Linked DNA regions of Homo sapiens: region 2 is linked to region 1. The links are contacts of gene promoters, found by promoter capture Hi-C in blood cells and fetal thymus (Javierre and others, 2016). All regions are on one chromosome and are shown on one strand. The core of a region is centred on a gene start or on the middle of the fragment in contact, and the rest is flanking DNA. Distances in the headings are between cores, read along the strand shown.

Region 1 (7,225 bases), core at 2,072-4,571:
TAAAATTAGCCCAGCGTGGTGGCTCATGCCTGTAGTCCCAGCTACTCGGGAGGCTGAGGCAGGAGGATCACTAGAGCCCAGGAGTTCGAGCTAGCAGCGAACCATGATCATGCCACTGCACTCCAGGCTGGGCAACAGAGTGAGACCTTGTCTCTAAAACAAATAAAATAAAATAGAAACAAAGGGTTTGGATAAAACTGATGCACTACCTTCATTCTGTCACATTTTCATGCTTTCATGCTGACTGAGAGGGCACTCATCCTGGGAGTTCATGCCATCCAGATGGGCAGGGGTTAAACTGAGACCTGTCTAGGTTGAAAGAAGCAGTACGAAGGGACAGAGTGGGCGCAGGAAAAAGAGGCTTCCGAGAGCATGCCCTCCCCACTATTCCATACACACCTAAATGCCTGGTAAGATCTTTGCCAGCTCACTCACATGATTCCAAGATAGGGAGCTTCCCTTGATTCTGAGAGTAACTCAGCCCACCTAAATGGAGGAAGCAAGGGCCAAGCACAACCTCTTTTTTTTTTTTTTTTTTTTTTTTTTTTTAAGACAGAGTCTCATTCTGTCACCCAGTCTGGAGTGTGCAGTGGTACAATCTCAGCTCACTGCAACCTCTGCCTCCCAGGTTCAAGTGATTATCCTGCCTCAGCCTCCTGAGTAGCTAGGACTACAGGTGTGCACCACCATGCCTGGCTAATTTTTGTCATTTTAGTAGAGACAGGGTTTCACCATGTTGGCCAGGAGGCTGGCCTGGAACTCCTGACCTCAGGTGATCCACCCGCCTTGGCCTCCGAAAGTGCTGGGATTACAGGCGTGAGCCACCACGCCTGGCCCAAGCACAACCTTTTAGGGTCAGCCACCTGAAGTGGAATCCTGCATTGGCCACTTACTCCCTATGAATCCTAGGGCCAGTTAGGGATCCCTGGGTTTTCTCACCTAAGAAGGTAAGTACTTCCTTCACAGGCTTGTTTGGAGGATTCAATGAAATACACTCAAACTTCAGCTCCCTTCTAATCATTCTCTCTCCCTTTCCCAGAGACAGTATTTGGAGAATAACAGAAACCAAGCCTTGTTAGGAAAGTTTCTTTCAAATTAGCTTAGAGTTTAACATTTTTTTTCTAGAGCCCTAGGAAAAAAACGCCCAATCAGTGCAATAAAAATAGGCTCAAGTGTTCAGTTGGGTATTTTCCTCTCATATCTTTTAGTTCTTTGAAGTTTCTTCCAAATTATAATCCAAAAATAAGAGTGCTACAATTTTTAGAAAAGTTATGTTGATGTAACTTTTATAGCAAGCTACCCAAAGAATCAAGCTATATTATAGCCATGCTCAGTTATGAAGACCAAAACTATTTTAAAAATACCAGAACGAGAAAGTCCTAGTTTATTTAGTCTGGCTTCCTTAACATGAAGGTCTTGTTGTTCTCAAAATATTCAGCTTTGGCTGAATTCCAAAACTGACATAAGCCCACTTCAGGTGTTTGGAAGACACTAAAGAGAATCAGAATTGAAAACAAGATTGGAAAATAAAGCCTTTTATGTGATCACAAATGCAAGAAGTGTATTGTTTTGAAACTACTAAACCAAGTTTTTACCCACAAATGTAAACATAAATATGTATATATTCTCAACACTGGACGTACAGGGGACTAAAGGTTAATTTCCATAATATGGTATTATTCCTAACATTTGCTAACAGCTAAGTGCTTCAGTTACTAGAACTGCCTTAACATTTTCTGAAATTTGAGATAGGTTGAAAGATACATTTCTTTCATGGATTATGCTAGCAATCACTTTAATGGCGAAACTAATCTTATTATTAGGATAGCATACAGGTGTTTTAGACAATGTTAAATTACAAACTTTCTAGCCCACCATGGTTTATGGGGTAATAAAAAACAGGCCCTGGTTCTTTCACCAAAATCCTTACAAAGATAACACACAAGTTCAGTGTAAGTTGTAATGTTATTGCCTTTGGAAGCACTGTAATTACTTCAAAGTCTGGGTTGGTGAGAGGAAATTCAAGCTACTAAAACTTATCGAAGGTAAGGTGAGTTGGGAAGATCATCACATGGCATGCAAATTAATATAGTTACACTCTGCGTGCATGGTATGTCATCGTTCCCGTACTCTCAAAACTACACAGAGAAAAGGAGAACCTCATCTAAAACGGTCACAGGTATATGCAGAAAGAAAACAGGGACCAAACCTCACAGAAGCGAAACCGAGACACTGAAAGGAGAAAGACTGACTGGGGCAAATATCTCACACTGCTGGAGAACAGTTCAAGTCGATCGCATGGACCCAGGGCTCCAGCGCTGGGCGGTGGGTGGATCCATAGGTCTATCGCACAAGTACACACAGACTCTTGCACAAGCACACACGCTCTCTCCGGAGCGGCGAGCGACAGGAGCAGTCACGCAGCGGCGCTCGCTGCCCCCAAAGTGGGGCAAGAAGTAAATGCTTCCCGCCCAGAAAAATGAAATGCCCCGAAGACCGCCAGATTAAACGCGGGTCCCGACCGCGCGGGATGGGAAAGGGGTCACACACGCACCTGCATTGTAAAAGCGGTCCAGCACGGTGGTTTCTCCAAAGTCGAGTTTCCCAAAATGCAGGGTTTCCAGGGTGGCGCCCACTGTCTCGCACGCCTCCCGCAAGCTCTGCAGGGCCTCGCTCTCGGCCACCACCAGTTGCCCTTGGCTCGCTTCGTTGATCACATATGCCACCGTGGTCCGTCGGCTGCCCCCGCCAACAGAGCTGCCCCGGCCTCGGGTGGCACTGCTCGAGGAGGTGGCCGCCGGACAACCGATGCCAGGGGCAGCGGCGCTCTCCACGTTCCAGAAGCTGCCCGGCGGCGGCGGTGGCAGCTGGTGCTCCTCGCCCTCGCCCACCGCCGCCGCTCCTCCCCTCCTGCAGATGCCGCCCTCGGGGATGGTGCAGAAGCCCGAGGGGGCGAAGGGTGGCACAGAGAAAGTGATGCCCTCGTCCGCCTCCGTGCTCATCTCTCCGGGCCGGGCAGCAACGGCGGCGGCGTCCCCCGCCCAGCCGCACCGCCTGGCCAGCCACAGCTCGGGGCTGCTCCGCGCCCGCCGGGCTAAGCAGCTGCCATCGCGCGCCGCGCCCTCGCCGCCGCGCCGCCGCCTCCTCTCCGGCGCCCTCTCCCCCGAGGGCACGCCGCTGCCCGGCGGCGGCTCGCTCCTCCTCGGCGCCTCCGTGGCCGCGCCGCTCGCCCTCTGCAGAGTTTAGAGTACAAGGGGTGGGGAAGCCGGGTGAGCGGGAAGGGACGGAGCTTCCTTTTCTTGGCCGGCTGACAAGTCGGCTCGCAAACCTGCGCCGCGGTGCAGCTCAAGGGCGCCGCGCTCGGGGTGCAGCCCGCCCTCGCCACCCGCCGCGCCGCGCCGCGCCGCGCCGCGCAGCTCCTTCCGTCCCGGCCGCTCTGGGAGGGGCCAGGAAGGGCGCCCCCTGGGTGCGGAGCTACCTGGCGCGCACCTTACGAGCGGGCTGGCTCCCCAGGCGGCGTCCCGGAACAGCAGCAGCGGCAGCCGAAAGGACCCTCCTCCCTCTTAGGCGGCAGCTCGCCTTCATCGGGTGGATTTCCTCCTCCTTGCCTGGCCTCGTTTCTCTTTCGATCGCCTCCGCCGCGTGGTCCCGGCGCCAGCCTCGTCGTTCCTTGCAGACGCTCTCCCTCTCCACCACCAGCTTCTGGCCACCCACTCGTAGCGGCACCGAGGGTCAGGGCCAGCCCCCAAGGAGGGCGCTGCTAGGAAGCTCGAGCCCGGACTGAACTGACCGCGCTGCGGCCCTGGGACCCCAGCCCTCCTCTGAGTGCTGCGCGTGGCATAGGGTCCCAGTCTTCACCCACCCGGCCCCCACCTACGAAGACCTGGAGCGCAAGCGATTACGGGGTGGCGCAGAAAGTCCCTCGAGGCAATACTCGGTCTTCGGAGTCCGCCCCTGAAGCATTTCCAGTGTTCCCCGCGACTAGGGCGCCCCCCTCCGGGCCTTGGCGGCCTGGTGGACTGGGACCGTGCGCGGCGCTGGCAGGATAGGCTCCGGGAGACCCACGTTGCGCGAGGCAGGAGGTTGTACATAGCGCCCTGGAGCCAGGGCCTGCACTGGAGGTTGCTTCATTAGTGACTGTGGCACTCCAGAAGTGGCTGGCTAAATTGATCAGGTTCTCCCATGTACTTTTCCTTTTAAAATTTCCAGTGGCTCATTCCGTTATCAGTAATGAGTAATTGATTAGTGCCAACTGCCGAAGGACTTAGTATTCTCATTTAGGATCTTAATTCCCCCACAAGCGCCAGATACTTAAGATAGAAGATGGAGTCTCTACCCGACTCCACAAATTATCAACAAGATGAAACAGGGGAATAACGTGACCTATTCTATTTTTTAAACTGCATCACGCGAGGCCGGGAGGGAAATACCCAGATTGTTTAAGAGCAATCAAAAAAAGTACCTGCTTATTTGGGGAGCAAAGAACAGATGTGTAAGTTCCCAGAGAACCCCAGAATGCTGTAATTGTTAGGAAAGCCAGTGCAAGTTACAACTGAGTAAAGAAACAGGTTTTGTACTTCCCATCTCCAGGAACTGAGACTAGTGAGTCCTGTGAAAAAGGCAGAAGAAAATGTAAATTACTTTTTTTTTTTTTTGAGACGGAGTTTCGCTCTTCTTGCCCGGGCTGGAGTGCAATGGCGCGATTTCGACTCCCTGCGACCTCTGCCTCCCGGGTTCAAGCGATTCCCCTGCCTCAGCCTTTCGAATAGCTGGGATTACAGGCATGCGCCACCACACCAGGCTAATTTTGTATTTTTAGTAGAGACGGGAGGGGGAGGGGTGTGGGGTTCACCATGTTGGCCAGGCTGGTCTCTAACTCCTGACCTCAGGTGATATGCCCGCGTCGGCCTCCCAAAGTGCTGGGATTACAGGCGTGAACCACCCAGCCCAGCCATGAATTACATTTCAAACTGGGTAAGAAGGAAGGATAAAATAGCTGAATAGTAAAGAATTAAAGGAAAGTCTGGGCGCAGTGGCTCACGCCTGTAATCCCAACACTTTGGGAGGCCGAGGCGGGCAGATCACTTGAGGTCAGGAGTTCAAGACCAGCCTGGCCAACATGGTGAAACCCCCGTCTCTACTAAAAATACAAAAATTAGCTGGACGTGGTGGCAGCCGCCTGTAATCCCAGCTACTCGAGAGGCTGAGACAGGAGAATCGTTTGAACCCGGGAGGTGGAGGTTGCAGTGAGCCGAGATGGCGACACTGCACTCTAGACTGGGCGACAGAGCGAGACTCCATCTAAAAAAAGAAAAAGAAAAAGAATTAAAGGAAAGAGTTCTTTAATTTTCTCCAAGGTGGGAGGATTGCTTGAGCCCAAGAGTTCAAGATCAGCCTGGACAACATAGTGAGACCCCCATCTTAAAAAAAAATAATAATTAAAGGAAGGAAGGAAATAGTCATGAGGAAAAACACCTAGCCGCTACACAACTGTATCAATGAATCAATGTGACATTAGATTTTTCTAAAGGTGTATAAAATAATAGAAGTAAATTTCTAGTAAGGAAACTTTATATTCTTCATGTAAAATGGAATCTATGTGACCCACACTAGCTTTTGGAATTAATATCAATAGTAAAATAGGTAGTGAATCAGTGATTATACTGAAACAAAATGTTGCTGAGCTAGTAATAGTTATGTGCCTTTTAATATTTTCAACAACTTGTCAAACCTCCAAAACCTTGTAGGAGTAAGATAATCCTCCCCGCTATCCTCACCAAGAACCACAAACTCTGGAAATCGATGAGGTTCATGTGTGGAAAACTAAAACGCCTAAATGCTCAAGTAGCATTTTACTGTAGAAATACAAAATCTGAAATTATATATCAAGCTATTTTCCAAAGCTGTAACTTTTTATACCCTCTCACTTTGTGCTTTCCTTCCAGATCCTTTCAGAGCCATTTTCATACACAATTTTTATTTTTTGTTTTACTTTGCTGGCTTTTTTGATTTATTAACTTTAAATATGTTTTTTATGTTAGGCACCCAAACCCCAATACAATGTTGAAATTCTGCTTCTAGCTGGTCCAGAGATTCTCCCTCTACCTAAAAGGCACGGTTTAGGTAATTTATGTTCCATAGCATAGGGTTATGAGATAATGAGGAACTAGCTGGCAAGATTCTGGAAGAAAGGACAGGAATCCAGAGGGTGAGTCTACAGTCAGGGTTCCCTTTGGCTGTGGGATTTTTGTGGATCTGAATTAGGCAGCTGAAAGGCTGAAGTGAATTTTTTTAATGAAAAATAACGGTATTTTGCAAAACAAAACAAAAAGAATGGTGACACCGTTGTGCATTTTCACAAATCTTTTTAATGTCTGGCTTAATAGATGACAGTGGATTCTCATTTCTGCTTCTACATTCATGCTGTTGCAGCATGTTGTTTTGGTTGAAGGGTATAAAGAAAATCTGGAGAAGTTTCTGAAGTGTAGGAGGTATTTGAAGAAGTACATGAAGAAAATACTCTGGGAGGAGCACAGTCACTCCCACTGTGAAGGCACACATGAATTCCTAAAAATCACTGAGCTGTGCAAAATAGTGCTTTTTTTAAAGTAATTTCAAGTTTTATTTTAGATTCGGGGGTACATGTGCAGGTTACATGGATATATTGCATGATGCTCAAGTTTAGGGTACGATTGTTCTTGTCACTCAGGTAGTAGAAAGAGCACCCAACAGTTGGTTTTTCAACCCTTGCTCCCTCCTTCCCTCCCGTCCGCAGTGTCTGTTGTTACCATCTTTATGTCCATGTGTATCCAATGGGACCCTCTCCTGGGAAGGTCTTAAGACCCACAGTCAGAAAGGTGGGGGGTTGTTAGCAGGTAAAAGGAGAGCAGGAAAAAATTAGAGGCCTGCCTCTGAGGCCTAACACACTCAACATAACAGAAGACTATAACGAGGGTTATGGGAGTTACAAGCCAGAAACCACAGATGAAAACCAATATATATCGTAACACCACACTCTGTTCATAGTTTCTTTGGTTGTGCAGAAGCTGTTTAGATTAGGTCCCGTCTGTCAGTTTTTCGTTTTGCTGCAAATTGCTTTTCAGGACTTAGTCATAAATTCTTTCCCAAGGCCGATGTCTAGAATGGTATTTCCTAGGTTTTCTTCTATGATTCCTAGGGTTTGAGGTCTTACATTTAAATCTTTAACCCATCTTGAGTGAATTTT
Region 2 (7,225 bases), core at 2,175-4,674, 79 kb before region 1:
AAAAATCATTCCTGAGCCAGATGATGGTGTGCACCTGTAATCCCAGCTACTCAAGAGGCAGAGGCAGGAGGGTTGCTTGAGGCCAGGAGTTCGAGGCCACAGTGAGCTATGATCGCACCACTGCACTCCAGCCTGGGTGACAAGAGAGTCCCATCTCTTAAAAAGAGAAAGAAAAATCATTCGTGTAACATCTGAATTCTTGTTAGCTATTGTTTATGCTTTGTAGATGCTAAAGGGCTACAAATCCTGTTCTCCTGAAGGAGACAGAGTTTATTCACAGTTTATCATGTAACCTTAAAGGAGGCATCAACTTTAATGGAGCAAAGGTACTGTTTGTTCATTTAACTCAATCCAAATAAATAACAAATAAGACCTTGAAAGGTATCTAGAGCAGAGAATGCTTAATTTGTATTAAATCCACTAAAGAGGGGTGGGAAGGAAAGGGAATAAATTTAAGACATAACTGCTCTATTTCACATCAGCTCATGGAAATTTTCCTCTCAAGTACCTATGAATAAGAAGATAAAATCAATATAAACTCCAGTTCCTTGCCAGGGGCACATTTCTGAAGATGCATTACCCCACTACAACTCCATACTTGTCTGAGGTATTTAGGGGGCTTTTGGTCAGTGTAGCCCCGGCTATACCAGAAACATTCAAAAAAATTCTTTTCCTGATTTTCTGGTATTGGTTGATAACCAATTAAGGGGAGCAAGACTAAAAAAAAAAATCTAGTCCAAGGCTCATTTGAAGGCAAAGACTAACTTTTGATAGCTCTCTGGGACAGTGTTTGAAAAGGTCACCTCAGGGATAACTAAATGGAGTATTTCCACCACTAGAAAGTTTTTGTGCCTAAAATTTAGGTAACTGCAGCCAGCGAAAGAAGTGGGAATAGCAGGCATGGGGTGGCCAAGTCAAATCAAACTTGGGGTGGGAGAAGCAGGAATAGGAACCAGGATTTCACCTTCCTGAAAGAAGAGAAAGGAGCAGGCTTGGAGTTCTTGCCCAGGGAAAGAACCTCTCCCTGGCTGGTGACTTTCTGGGTCTTCCGTTCTGATCCATCTTTCTGTCCTAGTGGAACTTGGCAAGTTTTCCATTAAAGTTGGGGAAAAGAAGAATAATCCCTATACTCCTCAGCTCCATCTTCTTAACTCATTTCAATGTGTCAAAAAAGCAAAACAAGAAACTATCAGATGGGCTGTCTGGGCCTCCTAGGCCTTGCTGAGAAGGAGAAACACCCCCGTACCCTTTCTGCACACTGCTAAAACAAGCTGAGCAGACTCAGGGAGAGTAATCCAACAAAAGTGTCATAGAGCCGTGACACAGAGTCTTTAAAGATAGATAGGAAACAAAGTACTTTTGTGTTTACATGTTATGCCTACATAAAAGCTCAAGCTTTAAAAGAAAAAAATCTCAATAATCTTAAAAAAAAAACCTAGAAAATCATCCTTTTGCAGAACATATGAAATCTGTGGATAGACTGAGAGAGGAAAGTACCAGATGACAAGTCAAAGAATATAGGGCTTATCCTTGCCCCGACACTAGCTGTGTGTGTTCCCCAAACAAGTCATCACGCGTCTCATTTCTCTTCTGTAAAGAAAATATCTTCTGGCCAGGAGCGTTGGCTCATGCCTGTAATCACAGCACTTTGGGAGGCAGAGGCAGGCAGATCACTGGAGCCCAGGAGTTTGAGACCAGCCTGGGAAACACGGCAAAACCCCATCTCTACAAAAAAATACAAAAATTAGCCAGGTGTAGCAGCATGTGCCTATACACCCAGCTACTCAGGAGGTCGAGATGGGAGGATTGCTTGAACCTGGGAGGTGGAGGTTGCACTGAGCCAAAATGGCACTACTGCACCCCAGGCTGGGTGGACAAAGTCAGACCTCTCAAAAAAAAAAAGAAAGAAAGAAAGAAAGAAAAAAGAAAAAGAAAATACCTTCTATCTCTCCAATCCAAATAATATCTAACTTGTCTGTCTCGTTGGGTTCTATGTAAAGGCCAAATGGAGTAAGTTAATGAAATTACTTGCAGTACTTTAAAGCTATTTATAGGAGGAGGTATTAATAAACCAAAGCAAACAACTCCAACTCAATTCCTGCACTGCCAGGTCTAGAGACCTTTTACACCTCTGTTATTCATGACGGGGGCTAAGAACACATCCTTCTCTTGCATATGAACACCTATCAATTAAAACAACCTGTACCAAAAATCAGGTTAAATTATATCAAAGCTGGAAAGTAATCCTAAAAGGAATTCTAGCCTCTCTTTTCCCTATTAATTTCTTTTCATATTTAAATAAGTATATCTTGGTGGAAGAACTCTGCCGTAAGTAGGTATCTGTCTCTAAACTGGCTGGAATGCTGATGAATGACATTTTATACATAAAGCATTTAATAGAGCTTTTTTTTTTTTTTTTGAGACAGGGTCTCACTCTGTCACTCTATCACCCAGGCTGGAGTGCAGTGACATGATCTCAGCTCACTGCAACCTCAACCTCCCCAGGCTCAGGCAATTCTCCTACCTCAGCCTCCTAAGTAGCTGGGACTACAGGCACGTACCACCATGACCAGCTAATTTTTGTAGAAACTGGGTCTCACTATGCTGACCAGGCTGGTCTTGAACTCCTGGGCTTAGGTGATCCACCTGCCTCAGCCTCCCAAAGTGCTGGGATTACAGCTGTGCCCGGCCTAACAGAGCTTCTTAACACAAACTTCACTTTATACTGTGTTGCTATTATAATTAACTTCTTCTTCTTTTTAACCAGTTGTTTCTTTCAGCAACACCTAATTGGGTCACATTATTCAAGTGCATGTATTACTTTTCTTAAACTGTATTGTTAAAGTTGGAGGTATAGTGAATTTTTCTACAGTAAATCATACTTTACACATTGATATGGTTTGGCTGTGTCCCCACCCAAATCTCAACTCGAATTGTAGCTCCCATGATTCCCACATGTTGTGGGAGGGACCTGGTGGGAGATAACTGAATTACGGGGGTGGTTTCCCCCATACTGTTCTCGTGGTAGTGAATAAGTCTCACGAGGTCTGATGATTTTATAAGGGGTTTCCCCTTCCACCTGGCTCATTCTATCTTGTCTGCTGCCATGTAAGATGTGCCTTTCACCTTCTGCCATGATTGTGAGGCCTCCCCAGCCACATAGAACTGTGAGTCCATTAAACCTCTTTTTCTTTATAAATTACCCAGTCTCAGGTATGTCTTTATCAGCAGCATGAAAATGAACTAATACACACACATATTTCAGTAATAGTTTCAAAGATATATTCTAAAAAGGCCCAAAGAGGGTGATGGGTTACAATGCCAAAAAGATCAACTTCCACAGAAAGAGTCATTTATATAGCATAAGTGAAAATAAAGATAATTCAGCAAGGCTTGCCCCACTCCTTCCTCTGTGTGCAGAAGTAGTCCTTCTTACTCTTTAAGGGTATTCAAAATCATAGGCCTACGACCAGAGTCACTACAAATGAGAAAAATAGCTGGTGCCCACAGTCATATAATGGCATTGTGCATCGCCTCTTAGACAAAATGGTAACAAGAGATTCAAAACAGTGGGCAAGGAGTGAGGGTGGTTAAAGAGGTATCAGGAAGGAGAAAGCAAGGGCATATTTTACCCAGTCTATACATAATTCCTTAGAAGGTATACTATTGCTAATTGACATCCAAGAAAGCTGAATTCTCCAGTCTTGAGTCCCTTTAATAACCTCAGGGATTCTACAATTGGGAAGTCAACTCCTGCTAAATAAATCATTCATCTAGCTTGTCAATTCAAGATCTTCAGAGAAAACCTTCATAAAGCAGTGTTACATGAATTGCTTATTTGCTCCTCCCCACAAATTACCTCTTTCCTTCCCCAATTTGAGATGGAATGATTATAGCTTAGATGAAAGTTAGATCATTTCTGAATAAATAAAATAAAGGAACAAGATTGTCTCTACCAAATGAAAAGAAGTGTAAGGGATAGCAACGTTGAACCAGGAAGAGTAGAGTCCCAGGGTTTTTAAATCAACAGCTGGTTATAAAGTAAGCTAGAGACTTTCAGAGATGTCCAGAGGCAGCACTATTAAAAAGGGGTAGGGCCAATGTTTCCAGTTCACAAATTGTGAGACCACTTTATAGGATCATATTTTCCAAGGATGTTTTTAAAAAACATTTACTGAGTGTGTACTTTGTACCACTAACAAGTTGATGATTTTTAAAATGCTGAAAAGAATCCAGCAAAAATTCTTTGTTAAACTAAAAGAATCCTAAACCTTTGAAAAATAAAAATTTTAATTCCATGCACAACTCAAGCTAAAACCAAATTCATCTTATTTACTTTGATAAGGGAGGCAAAACTTTAACAAAAGGAAGTACTGTTTTTTGTTTGTAAAAACAAAAAGATAAAATGTTTTTATGGGTTTAAGAACACTCTGGAATCCGAGTAGATTCTCCAAATACAGGTAAGAATTCAATTTAAGTGTGAGGTATTTGTAACAAATTACCAGGTGTCCTCACCAATTTACAAACTGGTATAATCATCAAAATTTACACATGGACATCACTGCTATTTTCAAAACTATAACCATTTGCTTCAAATGGATATGAATGAGTGCCAGAAAGACAAGACTCCGTGTTTAAGTTCTAAAGGAGATTGAGTCCCTCAGTGCCTGCAGATAAAAGATCATGGGTCTAGGTATCACAGAACTGCTCAAATGAGCAGTAGTTTTCAACGTTCATTTATGTTGTACCATATGTCAAAATTTCCTTCCTTTTTAAGATTGAATAATATTCCATTATATGTATATACCACATGTTGTTCAGCCAATGATCTGTTGATAAATATGTGGGTTGCTTCCACCTTTTGGCTACTAAGAATAATGCTACCATGAACATGGGTATATAAACACCTCTTCAAGATCCCGCTTTCAGTTCTTTTGGGTATATATCCAGAAGTGGAATTGCTGGATCATGTGGTAATTTTATTTTTAATGTTTTGGGGAGCTGCCGTATTATTAAAATTTGCTGATTTTTAAGGGCTAATTTAGTGAAATGTTACAAATTTTGGTTTGTGCACCTAAGATTTCATGCTAGCCAGATCCCAATCTAGAAAATAATAGATGCACTGAGGCAGAGTAAGGGTTTCAAGCATCACATATGTGTGTTCTGTATACAGTGAGATAGTGAAGGAGTAAGCGTGTAGACAGGTTGCCACAGAGAATAGTCTATTAATGAAAATCCCATCCATAAAGTAACTTTTCAGCCAATGGTTAAAGATAAAAATACAACTAAATTTTTTGAACAAGAAATAATCTAACATAATCATTACGTTTCAACACAAACTGCATCACCACTAACTGATGTGCCTACCAACCTATCAAGAAACATTACTTCTATAATGGATAAAATGAGAACAAAGTCTGTTTGAGTGCAGAAAGGGAAATATCCAAATATCTGAAGCTTTCTAACCACAGCCAGAACATAGAAAAAAGACACTAAAAATATTTTGGGATTCCAGTGTCCAAAATGCATATACGTTATCCTGGTGGATACAAAAAATAAAAGAATATAGCAACCTTTTCCTTTTTTAAAAAAGGTTAATTATTAAATATTTCAAGTATATAAAAAGTACAAAAATTAGCACTCATAATCTACCACCTAGATTTAGAACTATAACATTACAGATACAGTTGAAGACTCTCATCTTCCCTTCCCAATTTTATTCCATTCCTATCCCCTAAGAGGTAACTATTCTGAATGTTGTTTATAATTCCATGCACATGTCTATCCTTTTATAACACAAGTGTGTATAAAAGCATCCTCTTGCACTGACAATATTTTATATAGATGGTATGATACTGTACACAAGTAATTTTTTTACCCCAACACTGTTGTTTTGAGATATATTGATATTGACGTCTGAAGCACTAACTGATTTGTTTTAAGTGCTCTATAATATTCCATTAAATGATTATAGCTGGCTGGGCATGGTGGTTCACACCTGTAATCCCAGCACTTTGGGAGGCCAACGGGGGCGGATTGCTTGAGATCAGGAGTTTGATATCAGCCTGGCCAACATGGCGAAACCCCGTCTCTACTAAAATACAAAAATCAGCTGGGCGTGGTGGCGGGAGCCTGTAATCCCAGCTACTAGGGAGGCTGAGACAGGAGAATTGCTTGAACCCAGGAGGTGGAGGTTGCAGTGAGCCGGGATAGCACCACTGCACTCCAGCCCGGGTGACAAAGCAAGATCGTCTCAAAAAAAAAAAAAAAAAAAAAAAAAAAAAAAAAAAAAAATTACAGCTGAAGGTATCTATTAATTCTCCATTTCCTTGGGAGGAGGAGCTATTATAAACATGTTAACATAAACATTCTTGATTATATCTCCTTATGCATGCAAGAGACTTTTTTTACAGTATACATTTAGGGTTGGAATGACTAAGTCTTGGTGATATGCTCATTTGATATTATTAAATATTCCCAAATTGCGCTTCAGAAGGTAGTATCTCTCCCACCAGCAGTGTGTAGGTTTCCCACTCTCCACAATCTGGCCATCTGTAGTATAAGAGCTTTTAATTCTCAACTATCTGGCACGTGCAGTCATGTTTCATCCTGTTGTTTTGCTTCCTTTAAAAGTAGCATTGTTTAAAGTGAGTGGGGAGTGGCCCAGAACATAGAGGAGCTGAGGAAGGGAGTGGAGGAAAGGATCACAAGAAGATAAGCTGAGAGCTGGTGTTATAAAGGAATTTCTAGTGATAAGAGATGGTTCATTAAAACAACTTCCTCACTCTACACAAAACAGGTTCATTTCTCCTAAGTCATCAGAGGTGTTTAATGCATCTGCACCACAGCTCATTGACCAGGAGTGTCCAGACTTACTCACCACTTACTGAGAGACCCCAAGTGGAAGTATGATCATTTCATAATGCATGAAATAAATCAGAAAATAATTGTTACTAGCATTTCTTATTTTAAACCAATGTAAATATTGGCACAGATATTCTCTCAATAAACATTAGTAGGCACGAGAGAAATTCTCATGAGACTTAAAGAAAATTGTAAAAAATAAAAGTGTTGTTACAATGCTAAAGAAAATAAAAAGAATTGGCCAGGCACAGTGGCTCACGCCTGTGATCCCAGCACTTTGGGGGGCCGAGGTGGGCAGATTACTTGAGGTCAGGAGTTCAAGACCAGCCTGGCCAACATGGTGAAACCCCATCTCTACTAA

What was found. Contacts are between HindIII fragments. The CHiCAGO score rates a contact against its expected background, and 5 or more counts as called.
Region 2: a contact is called between a fragment that was not itself captured here and the fragment with the promoter of MAP3K5 in region 1, in 2 of 17 cell types (megakaryocytes and M0 macrophages). The highest score is 5.6, in megakaryocytes.

The regions. Positions count from the first base shown.
Region 1 is chr6:136,789,156-136,796,380 of GRCh38, forward strand. MAP3K5 (mitogen-activated protein kinase kinase kinase 5) reads right to left here and starts at 3,322. Exons shown (of 30, transcript NM_005923.4): 1 at 2,555-3,322. The coding sequence starts at 3,002. RefSeq lists enhancers at 2,072-2,587, 2,693-2,762, 3,553-3,782, 3,893-3,952, 4,323-4,402 and a silencer at 2,893-3,532. The HindIII fragment of the contact is 11,326 bases long and covers 1-7,225 here.
Region 2 is chr6:136,709,773-136,716,997 of GRCh38, forward strand. The region is part of intron 2 of MAP3K5 (mitogen-activated protein kinase kinase kinase 5); the gene reads right to left. Among named protein-coding and RNA genes, the nearest start is that of MAP3K5-AS2, 71 kb to the right of the region's middle. The HindIII fragment of the contact is 4,062 bases long and covers 1,394-5,455 here.